Linked DNA regions of Homo sapiens: region 2 is linked to region 1. Evidence: promoter capture Hi-C in 16 types of primary human blood cells and fetal thymus (Javierre and others, 2016). All regions are on one chromosome and are shown on one strand. The core of a region is centred on a gene start or on the middle of the fragment in contact, and the rest is flanking DNA. Distances in the headings are between cores, read along the strand shown. Region 1 holds the start of STARD3 (StAR related lipid transfer domain containing 3). Region 2 has its middle 22 kb from the start of ZPBP2.

Evidence for each region. Contacts are between HindIII fragments. The CHiCAGO score rates a contact against its expected background, and 5 or more counts as called.
Region 2: a contact is called between a fragment that was not itself captured here and the fragment with the promoter of STARD3 in region 1, in 1 of 17 cell types (activated CD4 T cells). The highest score is 5.7, in activated CD4 T cells.

The regions. Positions count from the first base shown.
Region 1 is chr17:39,632,871-39,640,781 of GRCh38, forward strand. STARD3 (StAR related lipid transfer domain containing 3) reads left to right here and starts at 4,274. Exons shown (of 15, transcript NM_006804.4): 1 at 4,274-4,361. It overlaps PPP1R1B (protein phosphatase 1 regulatory inhibitor subunit 1B), which reads left to right. Exons shown (of 7, transcript NM_032192.4): 5 at 1,013-1,216; 6 at 2,737-2,856; 7 at 2,946-3,754. The coding sequence ends at 2,995. It overlaps LOC124903998 (a long non-coding RNA gene), which reads right to left and starts at 4,420. Exons shown (of 2, transcript XR_007065749.1): 1 at 4,121-4,420; 2 at 1,768-2,156. RefSeq lists enhancers at 1-331, 2,419-3,042, 4,826-4,945 and a silencer at 4,216-4,285. The HindIII fragment of the contact is 16,133 bases long and covers 2,641-7,911 here.
Region 2 is chr17:39,885,941-39,893,851 of GRCh38, forward strand. No RefSeq gene overlaps it. Among named protein-coding and RNA genes, the nearest start is that of ZPBP2, 22 kb to the left of the region's middle. The HindIII fragment of the contact is 6,437 bases long and covers 2,499-7,911 here.

The DNA of each region.
Region 1 (7,911 bases), core at 3,024-5,523:
GGGGCCACTGGCAGACCAAGAAGGAACTGCAGCAACTCCCCATTCCCCACCCCCAGCCCCTCCTCAGCATCTTGTCTGTGGCCTGTGAACTTTGTGTCGCATATGTTCTAAGATCCTGCCAGCTCCTGCAGCCTCTCCTCAGTGGCCCCTCAACCTCTGCCATCCCCCAGAACCCCTGGCCTTGGCCCCTTTCTCTAACCCCTTGCTCCTTTCCATCTTTTGGAAACTTGTCTCCAGCTGCCCACACTGTTCCCTTCCCAGCCCTATCTGAGCAGGTCTTTGGAGGCTGGGGGGGTTGCTTTCTAGGTCACCGCAGAGGGAGCTGGGAACCTGGGGATGTGGGTCAAGATTGTGGGGGCCGCATCTGAGCATGCCGCATCCCCCGGCACAGACTGCACTGGCTGCAGACTATTATGTCCTCAGCCTCGGAATTGTTCTGTCCCTTGGAGCCCGGGGCAGGAGTATGTGGATTGGCATCTATGACTGGGCAGTGCCAGGGAGTGGGGACTATGCATCGCATGGGAGGTAGGATCAGGGTAAGCAGTGAGCCCTCAGCAGGCTGGGCACCCCCAAGAAATGGAAAGTGGCAAATCCCCAGGCCCTGGTTCCTACGCCCTGTGCCTTCTGCCTGGGCTTGAAGCTGGGAGACACTGTCTCCCGTACTGGGTACTTGGAAAATCAAGCTCTCCAGCCAGGGAATGTTAAGCTGCTGCTGTGCCCGCCTGGTCTTGCCCAGCCTAGTGCCCTATGGTGTGGGGGAGCTGCCTGGGGGCTAGCATCTTAGGACAGCTTAAGAGCCAAACATGATCAAATCTACCCCTGGCTGCCTCTGCCCTGGTCTGACACCCATCAGGCTGACCTGTCAACTTTGGCCTTTGAACTTGGGCCCCTGAGGGGGTATTCTCTGCCCCAGGCCTACGGGAAGGAGGCTGGGGGCTAGGCCACAGGCTATCTCCAGATCCATGGGCTGTGTCTAGCTGACCCTTGCTTTCCTCGGTCTCCTCTGTGCCAGCTGTGCAGCGCATTGCTGAGTCTCACCTGCAGTCTATCAGCAATTTGAATGAGAACCAGGCCTCAGAGGAGGAGGATGAGCTGGGGGAGCTTCGGGAGCTGGGTTATCCAAGAGAGGAAGATGAGGAGGAAGAGGAGGATGATGAAGAAGAGGAAGAAGAAGAGGACAGCCAGGCTGAAGTCCTGAAGGTCATCAGGCAGTCTGGTAAGCTGAGGGGCCTGTGACATGTGGATTAGCTGTGGGTCCTCCTTGAGTATACGAGGACGTCCCCTTCTAGTTCAGTGTCTCATACACGCAAACTGTAGTGACACCACAGGGGCCTCCCTGTCTTCTCGCTCCATGGGGTGCCCCGAACTCAGCCCTACCTGAGACATGGGTTTCCTCCATCCTTGGCTCAGTCCCTCTCCCAATCAGGTTTTCCCTAATAATTCCTCTCTTCCCTGAGAATTAAGGCCAAGGCCGTTTGGGGTTTGAGGCTAGAGCCAAAAGAGGACTTCCCACCTATGGCAGTAAGGGGGCGTGAGGACATTCAGGGATGGAGGACCAGGAGAGTCCAACACCCCTGTCACCTGCATTTCACCTACATTTTTGAACCTAGGATGTGGTCTCTGCTGGGGTGCAGAGGGCTGCCTCATTTACTTGCCCTCTCCAGGACTGTTGTCTGTTTCTCCTCTTTTTCCTTCCTAGGATGGAGTGGGAGGGTGCCCTCTAGTGTTTAGATGTAGAATTTAAAATTCAAGAACCAGCCCGGCCCATTAACCTTTTTAGTCTCATTATTTATGGGAATACTGAAGAGTCAACCACCCCTACTAGAAGCTGTCAGCTCTTCCACACAAACAAAAGGCCTTGGGCCTCCTGCCTGCATATCTGGCAGTGAAGAGATTGGCCATGGGGGCAAAAGCTGTTGCTGGGCTTCAGTCCCTTTGTGGGCAAGAGACAGCTGGAAGACCTGAATCAGTCCTCACTGAGACCCCTCCAAAACAGTGGAAGAGGGGTGAGAGGAGACTGTTCCCTCAGGAAAAGCAGCAGGTGGCTGGGTGCGGTGGCTCATGCCTGTAATTCCAGCACTTTGGGATGCCAAGGCTAGCGGATCACTTGAGGTCTGGAGTTCAAGACCAGTCCAGCCAACATGGTGAAACCCCATCTGTAATAAAAATACAAAAATTAGCCAGGCACAGTGGCACACACCTGTAATCCCAGCTGCTTGGGAGGCTGAGGCAGAAGAATCCCCTGAACCTGGGAGGTGGAAGTTGCAGTGAGCTGAGATCGCACCACTGCACTCCAGCCTGGGCAACAGAGTGAGACTCCATCTCAAAAACAAAAACAAAAAACCAAAACAAAACAACAAAAAAAAACAAACAAACAAAAAATGCAGAAGGGCACCGGGTCAAATGATAGTCCTATGATGGAGCAATATAAACCACCACGACTCCTAGTGGCTCCTGGGTGCTGGCGCTGGGCTGGGCAGGGTATTCACTATTACATCTTGTTTAAGGTAATCTACACAATTTCCCCCTTTCTATTTCCTTCAGAAAGGTACTAACTGACTTACGTAAGCCATATGGCTAGTTGCTGGGAGAGCTGTTCTAGCCCAGTTCTCTCTCCATGCTTCCATGATGCCCCTGGAAAGCTTAACCTCAGCCATCAGACACTTAGCTCACACTCCAGGACAGCCGGATGGATACGCAGAGCCTGTGTTCTTATCTCTTCTTTCCCATCCCCAGCTGGGCAAAAGACAACCTGTGGCCAGGGTCTGGAAGGGCCCTGGGAGCGCCCACCCCCTCTGGATGAGTCCGAGAGAGATGGAGGCTCTGAGGACCAAGTGGAAGACCCAGCACTAAGTGGTAAGGCTTGGGAGTGTGAAATGGGGAGGAGGGGCTGGGATCTTGGTGGGTGGGGCCAGGCCCTGAGTCCCTCTCTGCTTGCCTTTCAGAGCCTGGGGAGGAACCTCAGCGCCCTTCCCCCTCTGAGCCTGGCACATAGGCACCCAGCCTGCATCTCCCAGGAGGAAGTGGAGGGGACATCGCTGTTCCCCAGAAACCCACTCTATCCTCACCCTGTTTTGTGCTCTTCCCCTCGCCTGCTAGGGCTGCGGCTTCTGACTTCTAGAAGACTAAGGCTGGTCTGTGTTTGCTTGTTTGCCCACCTTTGGCTGATACCCAGAGAACCTGGGCACTTGCTGCCTGATGCCCACCCCTGCCAGTCATTCCTCCATTCACCCAGCGGGAGGTGGGATGTGAGACAGCCCACATTGGAAAATCCAGAAAACCGGGAACAGGGATTTGCCCTTCACAATTCTACTCCCCAGATCCTCTCCCCTGGACACAGGAGACCCACAGGGCAGGACCCTAAGATCTGGGGAAAGGAGGTCCTGAGAACCTTGAGGTACCCTTAGATCCTTTTCTACCCACTTTCCTATGGAGGATTCCAAGTCACCACTTCTCTCACCGGCTTCTACCAGGGTCCAGGACTAAGGCGTTTTTCTCCATAGCCTCAACATTTTGGGAATCTTCCCTTAATCACCCTTGCTCCTCCTGGGTGCCTGGAAGATGGACTGGCAGAGACCTCTTTGTTGCGTTTTGTGCTTTGATGCCAGGAATGCCGCCTAGTTTATGTCCCCGGTGGGGCACACAGCGGGGGGCGCCAGGTTTTCCTTGTCCCCCAGCTGCTCTGCCCCTTTCCCCTTCTTCCCTGACTCCAGGCCTGAACCCCTCCCGTGCTGTAATAAATCTTTGTAAATAACTGCTGAGACTCCTCTTTCAGGGGAAGCAGGAGGAAAAGGGAGGTAATGGGGCGTCCTGATAGGGAAGGCCGGTGGTCAACCAAGGGTTAGGGTTTTGACCCTACTGTCCAATCCTCTAGTCTAGGAGTCTTTCTGGCAGACAGCAGGCTCGGGGCACTCAGAGGAAGAACTACAGAAGTTCTAGCTGCTGCTTGGGATGGCTGAAGGAGGCAGGTGGGGTGGGGAAGTCCTTCTCGAATAACTGGATTCCTCCAAAGATTTCCCCATCCCCACAGGACTCCCCTCGGGAAATTCCCCTTTTTCCCTCAGTGCCAGGCCTGTGTGGCCTAATAACGACGGCCCTGGTCTTCTTCCCACTCCCCTACCCTTAGGTAGGCCCTTAGACTCCGGCCTTTGAGTCCGCTTCTGCGCAGGGCCGGGGCTGGAGGCGGGGCGAAGGGGCGGGGCCGCAGGCGAACGCAAGTCCCGCTTCGCTCTCGGGGGCGGACTCAGCGGCGGAAGTGGCGCTGCCGGAAGATCTTCTTCCGCTCTGAGGCGCTACTGAGGCCGCGGAGCCGGACTGCGGTTGGGGCGGGAAGAGCCGGGGCCGTGGCTGACATGGAGCAGGTGGGTCCCGGAGCGGTCGCTGGGAGCGGGTGGCGTGCGAGGGCCGTCTTCCGCCGGTCGAACCCGCTTCGCCGCCCGCTGTCCGTGCTGGGTTCCGTCCGACCCTTCCCACACCCGCTGCGTCTCAGGTTCCGCCCCCTTCCTCTGTCTGGCCTCGCGCCGCCCCGCGCGGGTTGGGGTCTCCAGCAATGACTCTTGGCGACCCCGCCTATCCTGGGGAGCCCGGGGAGGACGTTCGGGATCTCCTTCCAAAGCCTCCGTCTTAACTGAGGGGAGAGGAGAGGGTGAGGTGTCTGGGTGTTATGAGCAGGGGCAGGTATGGGGAGGGGTCGGAATCTGGGGTGAGAGGAAAACATCTACGCATTCCGGTAGCTCTGCGTCTCAGTGTCATCCCGTGTCTCCCCAACTTCCTTTCGAAACGGCCGTGAATAACTTCCTAATTGGTATTAAAAGGGCCCTTTGAAGTCTTGAGTTCTTAGAGGTGCATAGTACCATTGACACTCATTTCTAATGACACGTTCCCTCACCCCGCATTTTTGGGTTAGTCAATGTCTCCTGGTTTTCTTCGTACCGCTCTGACAGTCGGTCAAAGTCCCGCTTCACGTTTTCCTCTGTCGCCCAACCCCTCGCTCTGTACACTGAATCTCAGTGGTCTTATTTTCCCCCACGGCTTCAGCTTTACACCAACTAAATACCCAGATCCACATCTTCAGCGCAGCCCTTCCCTGGAGCTCCACGCTTGCCCATCCAGCGGCCATTGGGACAGCTCTGCTTCACATGGAGCTCACTGGGTCCAAACTTGAACTGGTCTTTTCCTTGCAGATTAATTCTTCCTCTACCCCAACCCAGCCGGAAGTCTGGTAATTTCCTTACACTTTCTCCTCTCTTTCAAGTCCCACATCTTAAAAGTGACCTAGTACTGCCAACTTCCTGAACATCCTTCAAACCTGGGCCAGCTCCATCTCTTCTGTTACCACGCTGTTGATGTATTGTCAATTCCCAACAGTCCAGCCCTGGCAGCTTGCAACCCAGTCTCCAAACTGTAACTCTTGTGATCCTTTTAGAACACAAGTCTTACGGTGCCAGTTCCTTGCTGATAACCTTTTTCTGGCTTTCTATTGCCTATGTGCTGAACCCCTAGCACAATTTACACAGCTCTCTGTGATCTGACCTAGCAGTCTCCTGTGTGCACCCTAAGGTCCAATAATACGGCACTGCAGCATGCGCCATGCCTACCCTTGCTGTTCGTATCTTCATGACTTTGCACACACCAGCCCCCGCTGCTTGGAAACCTCCTCCTTCTCTTGTCTGCTGGGCTACCTTCTACATGTTTTTCAGCGCAGGCAGCGCTGCCTCCGCCTAACCCCCAAGGTTAATTGCCCTTCTGTGTCCTGTAGCACCCTGTCCATAATAGCATAGTAGCTGAGAATACAGACTCCTGGATCAGACTGCCTGGGTTCTGACCTGTTTGGTAACCTTGATGAAGTCAGTGCCTCAATTTCCTCACTTGTAAAATGGAGGTAGGAATGTCTCTACTTCATAGAGTTGTGAGGATTGAATGGAATATTGTATGTTTAGGTCTTAAACCAGTGCTAGGCACAAGAATGCTCAATAAATTAAAGTGAGTTGCCTGGGTGCAGTGGCTCATGCATTAATCCTAGTACTTTGGGAGGCAAGGCAGGATGATCGCTTGAGGCCAGGGGTTTGCAACTAGCTTGGGCAACATAGTGAGACCCCATCGCTACAAAAATTTAAAAAACTAGCTGAGCATGGTGGTACGTGTGGGAGGATCCTTTGAGCCCAGGAATTTGAAGTTACAACGAGATATGGTTGTGCCACTGCACTCTAGTGTGAGGGACAGAGTGAGATCCTGTTTCTAAAATAAATAAATAAAAAGTTATTACTATTATGTAAGGACAACATAGTTCACCAGTTATGATTTTTAATTTCATAAGTTGCCTGAGGATGGTTGAAGTGGCTTACTAGTCATTGGATAGAGCCTGGCTCTTTGCCAATAAATAAAATGCTGGAGTGGAGGACACTGGGGGCAGGGTCTGGATTTATTGAGTGAAGATTCAAGAGTGAAAAAGGCTCAGACCTGGTCTGCTCAGGAAAACCAGTCTGGAAGTGTGTGTGTGTTACATGGCAAGCATTAAATCTAGAGAAATGTATAGATCTGGGAACTAGAGGGAGAAAAAGACCAGGGGCGGCTTCTGAGGAGCTGACAGTTAATGGGGCCTATAAAGCGATGGGAGGATTTTATCAGAGGGAGGCAGAGGCTGGAGTGGGCTCAGAGATCAGAAAGCTGGGTCCTCTGAACAGAGCTCCAGTAGATGGTGGCTGGGTGGGGGAACAGGGGAGACGGAGCTGAGGAAGACAGAGGCAGCGTCCTTTGCTGACGCTGGCAATTCCTTTCCTGTATTGGCCATGAGGAAGCATCCCTTGACTTGGGAGCCAGCAGGGACCATGCCTGGGGGCAACTATGCTCCGGAGGCCTAGTACCTGGTGTTTGGGACCAGGCCCCCTGGGTAGGGCCATTGTGCATGCCTTTGGGCTGGGCCTTCTTTGGAGCTCTTTTGCCTCCCTGTAATGCCCACCCTCCTTGCCTCCAGCTGATAGATGCTGACTCTTCAAGGCCAGGGTCAGATGGCCCCTCCTCCCTGTGGCTTTTCTGACTTCACTCATTCCAGCCTGGGTCAGATGATCCCTTCTCTGGGAGCCCACGGTCCTTTGTTCATTCCTCCCTGAAAGCGCTGATCACAGCATGGTATTATTTATCTGCCAGTCTTCCTCACCAGACCCAGAGTCCCTGATGGACCAGAACAGGGTCCTGTGGCCCCAGGACTTGCACTGTGTCCAGCATACTGTAGGCCCTTGGAACCCGCATGTTGCATTAAGTTGAGCTCTCACACAGCTAGACTTGTTAAGGGAGAGCGGTGCGGGGGAGATAAAAAATCCGGCACATCTGGCAGCTTGTGCCTGTTCCACTGAATGCGAGAGCCTGTTGGCTCCACTTTACAGATGAGGAAGCTGAGGTTCAGGGGAGGTAAGGTCAAGATCACTCAGCAGGGATTTAAAGAGCTGTCTCCTGACTCCAGGTCTGCATGTCTCCCAGAAACTGCCTTGGGGTCCCAGCCTCCAAGGGGGCAGGTGCCACATCAGTGGGACAAAAGAAAAGTGTCCCTTTTTCTGGCTGAGGAGAGGCTAATCCTGGCTTTGTCCAGGCAGGGTTGGTGCCTGGAGGATCCTGTGCTGAAACCGGCTCCCTTCCATCCCCCCAACCCCCCCACCCCTTGTCCCTTGCCCTATGGGGGCCTTTTCTTGAGAGGGCTGAGATCTCTCCTGGAAGATGACTAGCCGTTTCCAGACTAACCTTGGGAACTTGACCTCACTGGTTTACATAGCAGCACGAAGAGGGCAGGTGGGGCCTGATTCACTGGCCCTGAGTGGGTCAGGGGTCATGGAATCACAGAACTGGGGGCATCCCTGATGATTCACAGGGCCTGGCACAAGGGGGAAGGGAGGGCAAGTAGATCTCAGTGTGTTAGGG
Region 2 (7,911 bases), core at 4,467-6,966, 250 kb after region 1:
CTGGGAGGCAGAGGCTGAAGTGAGCCATGATCATGCCACTGCACTCCAGTCTGGATGACAGAGTGAGACCCCATCTCCAAACAAACAAACAAACAACATATGCGTGCAGGTGTCTTTTTCATATAATGACTTCTTTTCCTTTGGGTAGATACCCAGTAGTGGGATTGCTGGATTGAATGGTTGGTCTACTTTTAGTTCTTTGAGAAATCTGCTATTGTTTTCCATAGAGGTTGTACTAATTTACATTCCCACCAGCGGTGTATAAGTGTTCCCTTTTCAACACATCCACACTGACATCTATTGTCTTTTGACTTTCTAATAATGACCATTCTGGCTGGGGTAAGGTGTTATCTCATTGTGGTTTTAATTTGCATTTCCCTGATGATTAGTGACGTTGAGCATTTTTTCATATGTTTGTGGCTCTTCAAAGGGTCACACGAGTCTGGACACAATGGCTCATGCCTGTAATCAGAGCACTTTGGGAGGCCAAGGCGGGCAGATCACCTGAGATCAGGAGTTTGAGACTAGCCTGGCCAACGTGGTGAAACCCTGTCTCTACTAAAAATACAAAAACTAGCTGGGCTTGGTGGCGCACACCTGTAATCCCAGCTACTTGGGAGGCTGAGGCAAGAGAGTCACTTGAACTCGGCAGGTGGAGGTTGCAGTGAGCCAAGATTGTGCCACTGCACTCCAGCCTGGTCAACAGGGAGACTCTGTCACACACACAAAAAAAGGATCACACGTTACACAAGCAGATACACAGTTTATCTGTGGTATTAAAATTTCATGGGAAGGCAATTGTGGGGGGAAGTCTTAAAAAAAAAGCTTCCTAAAGGAGGGGAAAAGAGGCTGGCAACCCCTGGCATAAAAGATTAAACCCAAAATTGGCATCCAAAGCCTTCTACGGTCTGGTTTCCATTGACCTTTCCACCTTGATTCCTATCATTCTACACTGGGGGACAGATTGGACTAAATCTCTTAAGTTCTCTTCCAGCTCTAAGAATGTAAAGGTCTTTTCAGTTTGAACCCTTTTCTGTAACAAGACTCATCTTGCTTTCTCCTAGACAGACTACACTTATTCCTCATATGTAGAATGCCCTTCCATCTTTGTTTCCACGTTATTCACAACACTTCTACCCACACTGATCAGTTTCTTCCATAAATGTATTGTCTGCTACTGCTAATTTTAGCATGGAACCACATTTTTGTTACAATTTACTTTTTTTCTTTTTTCTTTTTCTTTTTCTTTTTTTTTTTTTTTTTGAGACAGGATCTTGCTGCCTTGCCCAGGCTGGAGTGCAGTGGTGTGATCACAGCCCACTGCAGCCTTGACCTCCTGGGCTCAAGCAATCCACCTGCCTCAGCTTCTGGAGTAGCTGGGACTATAGGCATGTGCCACTACACCTGGCTGATTAAAAAAATTTTTTTTGTAGAGATGAGGCCTCACTATGTTGCCCAGACTGGTCATTTAACATTTTTAAGCCTCTTTCATTATTTGTAAAATGAAAGGATTATATTAAATCCATAATATCTCTTCCAGCACTGAATCTAGGTTTAATGTCTTTTCTATCTTCTGTATCCTTTCCCCACCATCCCCTACTAGAATAAACTCCTGTGAGCAGGAACTTCCTCATACTAACCTTTGAATGCCCCCCACATTTCTATGCATTATAGCTGTAATAAGTAATTGAACTGATTAAATTGAATCTGCATTCAGAGGTAAACTTGTGGTTATATCCTACTTGCTACTTATTTTGAATCTTGAGAATATTTGCAGCCAGGCATGGTGGCTCATGCTTGTACTCCCAGCACTTTTGGAGGCTGAGGCAGGCAGATTGTTTGAACCCAGGAGTTCAGAACCAGCCTGGGCAACATGATGAAACCCTGTCTCTACAAAAAAATTCAAAAATTAGCTGGGTGTGATAGCACACACCTGTAGTCCCAGCTACTTGGGAGGCTAAGGTAGGAGGATCGCTTGAGCCCAGGAGGCAGAGGTTGCGATGAGCCAAGCCAAGATCACACCACTGCACTCCAGCCTGGGCGACAGAGTGAGACCCTGTCTCAAAAAAAAAAAAAAAAAAGCCAGACATGGTGCCTCACGCTTGTAATCTTAGCACTTTGGGAGGCCAAGGTGGGCGGATCACATGAGGCCAGGAGTTTGAGACTAGCCTGGCCAACATGGCGAAGCCCCATCTCTACTAAAAAAAAAAAAAAAAAAAAAAAAAAATTAGCTAGATGTGGTGGCACACACCTGTAATCCCAGCTACTTGGGAGGCTAAGTCATGAGAATTGCTTGAACCTGGGAGGCTGAGGTTGCAGTGAACTGACATCCTCGCACCGCTGCACTCCAGCCTGGGTGACAAAATGAAACTCTGTCTCAAAAAAGAGAGAGAGAGAGAGATAATATTTGCCCCTTGATACATTGATTCACACTTTTTCCATCCCCTAACCCCGATCCATAGTAAACTATTTAAATATTATAACACAGTAGAATTAAAAGCTTGTGTTGAATTAATATTTTGCAAATGTTAACCCATTAACAACAAAATTAAATGAATGTAATATTCTTTATCTCATTAGCAGAGACACAAAGCCCTAAAATGGCAACAAAGTTATTATATCTTCTGACTTATTCAATGGAAACAGAAGTTGTAACAGCATTCCTACAATTTGCTGCTGAAAAAAATCCCACCCTTTCCCTTTTTTTTTTTTTTTTTTGAGATGGAGTCTCCCTCTGTTGCCCAGGCTGAAGTGCAGTGGCACAATCTCGGCTCACTGCAACCTCCACCTCCCGGGTTCAAGCGATTCTCCTGTCTCAGCCTCCCGAGTAGCTGGGATTACAGGCGCACGCCGCCATGCCTGGCTAATTTTTTGTATTTTAGTAGAGTTGGGGTTTCACCGTGTTGCCCAGGCTGGTCTCAAACTCCTGAGCTCAGGCAATCCACCCACGTTGGCCTCCCAAATTGCTGGGATTACAGGCATGAGCCACCGCACCTGGCCTCCCTCTTTTTCATCTTGATTCTGTATGTGTACATTTGTAGTACTTAGAAGTCACATTTCACAGGATTGTACCTACCAAAAGAGTCAGTATTGAGAATTTTGTATTTTGTACTTCTGCAAGAGTATTTTCCAACACTAGTGTATTATTAATAAACTAATGAACATTTGGTTTTCATTTGCTTGTTTCAACAACCATTTTGGCATGTATGTGGTGTTAATAGCTTAATGCTTTGAACTGCAGGTGCCATATCTTCATGTATTGTAAATGTTTCTGTCTGAAGCAGTTAGAAAAACTAATGGATCTACTTAGTTCAGATTTAGTAAAATTTTCTGGTCGTATGTGAAAGCATTAGTTTATTGAAGTATAAGAAAATCACTGATTACAAACTTTCAAGAGCACAAACATTTAGCCTCTATGGACATATTAGCTAGCCTATCAGAGGTATTATTGGGGAATAAAAGGCTAACAGTTTATGTACCTTTCTAATCAATGATTAATAAAATCTCTTGTAAGAGCCTGTGTGTTGTCACCGGACATTTTTATCTTACCTTAGGCTTTCTTATCAGCTGCAAAGCAGACTATCCTGAAATTCTTACCAAGATATGTGTTCTTAGGTTACCTGTGTATTAACCTGCTCAGAATATCCAGAAGAGAAGATGTCCAAATGTAATCTAGGCTGACCTTTTTCTGCCAAATTGTTTCAGTTGCAGATTATGGACTCTTGCCTTTCATTTTCATTATATTCTTACAGTTTTTTGTTTACTTCACATCTTTAAAAACAAAACATTACAGGTTCATTTAAAGCCTCTTTATACTTTTCTTCTACCACTATTCTCTTATCCCCCCCAAGAATTAATCACCACTCTGAAATTGGTAGGTATCCCTCCCATGTAAGTTTTTTGTTGTTGTTGGGTGGGGGTTGTCTTTGTTTTTGTTTTTGTTTTTTCTGAGACTGAGTTTTGCTCTTGTTGCCCAGGTTGGAGTGCAGTGGTATGATTTCAGTTCACTGCAGCCTCCGCCTCCCAAGTTCAAGCGATTCTCCTGCCTCAGCCTCCTGAGTAGCTGGGATTACAGGGGGCGCACCACCATGCCCAGCCAATTTTTGTATTGCCCAGGCTGGTCTCGAACTCCTGACCTCAGGTGATCTGCCACCTCGGCCTCTCAAAGTGCTGGGGATTATAGACATGAGCCACCACGCCCGGCCTTAAGTTTTGTAATCATTTAATTTTTACATCAAAGGTGTAATGCGTATGCTTTGCAACTTTCTTTACCCATATTTTAAAAAATTCTGTTAACACATGAAGATTTGATTCCATTCCTCCTCTATTCCACTACATTAATATGGCAATATGTATTATTTTCCATCTATTAACTGTATGTGCATCAGTCAGGGTCCAATCTCGAGACAGAAAATACACAGTAATTTGATTAGAGGAAGTTTAATATGAGGAATTATTAAATGTAACAAGGGATTGGAATAATAAGGAATTGCCTAGTAAGATGTAAGGAGAACTCTAAAGAATAGAGGAATAACAGATATACATATATTTTTAAGGCAATACCACTAGGACTGAGAGTGTCTAAGAAAATCCACCATCCCCTAGGGCTGAGGTCCAGCTTGTTAAAATGAGCATAACCATGGGTCACCAGATGGAAGAAAAGTCATTGTCGTGCTAAAAATACACTCTCTAGAACTTGTCAGAGACCCACCCTCTGCGGTGCCAGGAAAAGCTGTACATAGGGAAGTTTCTCACTAGAGACACTCTGCTATAAAACCACAGAAGGAGGCCAGGCGTGGTGGCTCATGCCTGTAATCCTAGCACTTTGGGAGGCCAAAGTGGGCAGATCACTTGAGGTCAGGAGTTCGAGACCAGCCTGGCCAACATAGTGAAACCCTGTCTCTACTAAAAATACAAAAATTAGCTGGGTGTGGTGGTGGGTGCCTGTAATCCCAGCTACTTGGGAGGCTGAGGCAGGAGAATCGCTTGAACCCAGGAGACAGAGATGGCAGTGAGCCAGATTGTGCCTCTGCACTCCAGGGCAACAGTGACACATCATCTCTAAATAAATAAATAAATCCACAGAAGGAGGAGGAGTTGTCAGTGGTGCTGCTAGCCACCAGGCACTGCAGGGTATGGACAATGGAGAAGTTGAACATGCTACCAGAGCCTGCCAAAGCAAGAACTCAGAACCTACAGTGTCTCTCCAGCACCCCTTTCTGACAGTTCATTGTTGTGCCAGCTGGCAAAGGAAAAATATTATCAGAGCCCAGATTCATTTTCATAGAGCAGGCAAAAAGGATGAATTTGGAGCTGAGAGACAATAAGTTGCTAACTGTCACAGTCTAACCTTTTGGCTATTTGACGTCCACATGCACCTTTCTATACACATTTGAACTCTTGTTCATGGACAAAACAATTTTTATTTTTTGAGACAAGGTCTCTGTTGCTCCCGCTAAAGTGCGGTGGCACAATCATAGCTTACTGCAGGCTTTGAACTCCTGGGCTCAAGCGATCCTCCTGCCTCAGCCTCACAAGTATCTGGGACTACAGGCACGTGCCACCACACCCAGTTAATTTTTAAAATTTTTTTGTGGAGACAAGTTCTCTCTCTAGAACTCAGGCTGATCTCAAACTCCTGGGCTCAAGTGATCCTCCCGCCTCAGCCTCTGAAAGTGCTGGGATTACAGGCGTGAGCCACCTCACCTGGCCACAATTTTATATTCTAAGAAGATACATCTATCCATCTTAAAAGTACTTGCTGTTTCCCCAAAATGTAAAGATATGTAGTCCCAACAGTCATTGTTTCTATTGCTATTTTAAATACTTCTCAAATTCAGTCACAGTTCCACTGAATATTCTTACCTAAAGACTAAACTGTAAAATTATCTACCAACAATCTGTATATTAAAAACTGGAAAGGAGAGAGAAGAAGGATAGCATATTAAAATAAAGGTATTGGCTGGGCACAGTGGCTCACACCTGTAATCCCAGCACTTCAGGAGGCTAAGGCGGGTGGATCACCTGAGGTCAGGAGTTAGAGACCAGCCTGGCCAACATGGTGAAATCCCGTCTCTACTAATAATACAAAAATTAGCCAGGTGTGGTGGCACACACCTGTAATCCCAGCTACTCAGGAGGCTGAGGCAGAAGAATCGCTTGAGCCCAGGAGGCAGAGGTTGCAGTGTGCTGAGATTGTGCCACTGTGCTCCAGCCTGGGCGACAGAGCAAGACTTTGTCTCAAAATAAATAAATAAATAAATAAAGGTGTGAATACAAGAAGCAAAGAGAAAATATGCAAAGCTACTTTGTTTCTGTGATTGGTCATTAAGGTTGTAGTTTATACCTATGGCTTCCTTCTGCGGGAAGCCAATTCCGTGTTATTCTTGCCCTCAGTCAGAACTTCAGTTGCTGTGGGTTCTTTATGTGGTGGAATGACTGAAATTTTATTGCCAAAGTGTCTGAATCTTTATTGTTCTTACCCCTTCTCCTCCCCACACCTGTTTTTTGGTTGCTACGTAGTTTTCCATCAACCTTTACTATTGAAGATGGAAGAACTAGAGGTACCTCAGAGAATCTGGGTTCCAGACATAGTCCTCCTTTCTACCCTTGTGTAGCAACTCAGTTTCCCATTGGTCATCAGGATCATTCTCTCCAGCCAGATTAACTCTCCTTTCTCACCTCATCCCCTTTTTTCCCTGCTTAGTTCAACAACATATGGAGCCCAAAATGTCCAGGTGACAGTCTCATCTTCCAAACCAGGGAAGAACCATTGTGGTGTCTCCTTGTGGAAGCATCCCCCTCTTGGGAACAAAGATCTCCAAACCATCAAAGCTCAAAGTTACCAGGATAGAGAGCGAACATTCTTCTAGTGGGTTATTGGGTGGAATAGTGAGAGGAGCCACTCCTACACCCACTCTTTGATTCCTGGACTATCCTGGCTATGAGGGAGACAGCACTAGATAGTGGCCTCTGATTCAAAACCTAAACTGCATCCTGTAAAGCAGAACCCATTTCTTTCAGGGTGTTGTCTCCCAGTTGACACTGTAACAGATTTTAGTGAGCCATTTCACCTTTCCGTTAAGCTAATTGCTTCTAGGTGATGGGGAGTGGAGTAAGACCAGCGAATTCTACGGCCATGAGCCCACTGCTTCACTTCCTTTGCAGTGAAGTGAGTTCCCTGATCAGACACAATGCAGTGTGGAATGCCATGATGGTCGATAAGGCATTCTGTGAGTTCACAGGTGGCAGCGCTGGCTGAAGCATTATGAGCAGGGAAGGCAAACCCACATCCAGAATATGTGTCTATTCCAGTGAGGATGAATCTCTGTTGTTTGGATAGTTTTATTCTGTCGGCATAAAAAAAACTGGGCACACAGGTTAATGACTAGGTTACCCTGAAATAGGCTAATGCATTATTCTTTTCCATAATAGCACATCTCATTTTGAAACAGTAGAACTTCATAAAAGTGAGAAAGAGAGTATGAACATTTTAGTGGTAGGATTCTAAAGTGATTATGTCCCCCTAAGAAGGAAATGTTTCCCTCTTGAAGGTAGAACTACCACCCCAACCATCCTAAAGAGACAGATGCCTGGCCGGACACAGTGGCTCACGCCTGTAATCCCAGCACTTTGGGAGGCTGAGGCAGGTGGATCATCTGAGGTCAGGAGTTTAAGACCAGCCTGGCTAACATGGTGAAACCCTGTTTCTACTAAAAATACAAAAAAAAATTAGCTGGGCCTGGTGGCAGGCACCTGTAATCCCAGCTACTCAGGAGGCTTAGGCAAGAGAATCACTTGAACCCGGGAGGTGGAGATTGCAGTGAGCTGAGATCACTCATTGCACTCAGCTTGGGCAACAAGAGCGAAACTCCGTCTCAAAAAAAAAAAAAAAAAAAAAGAGAGACATGC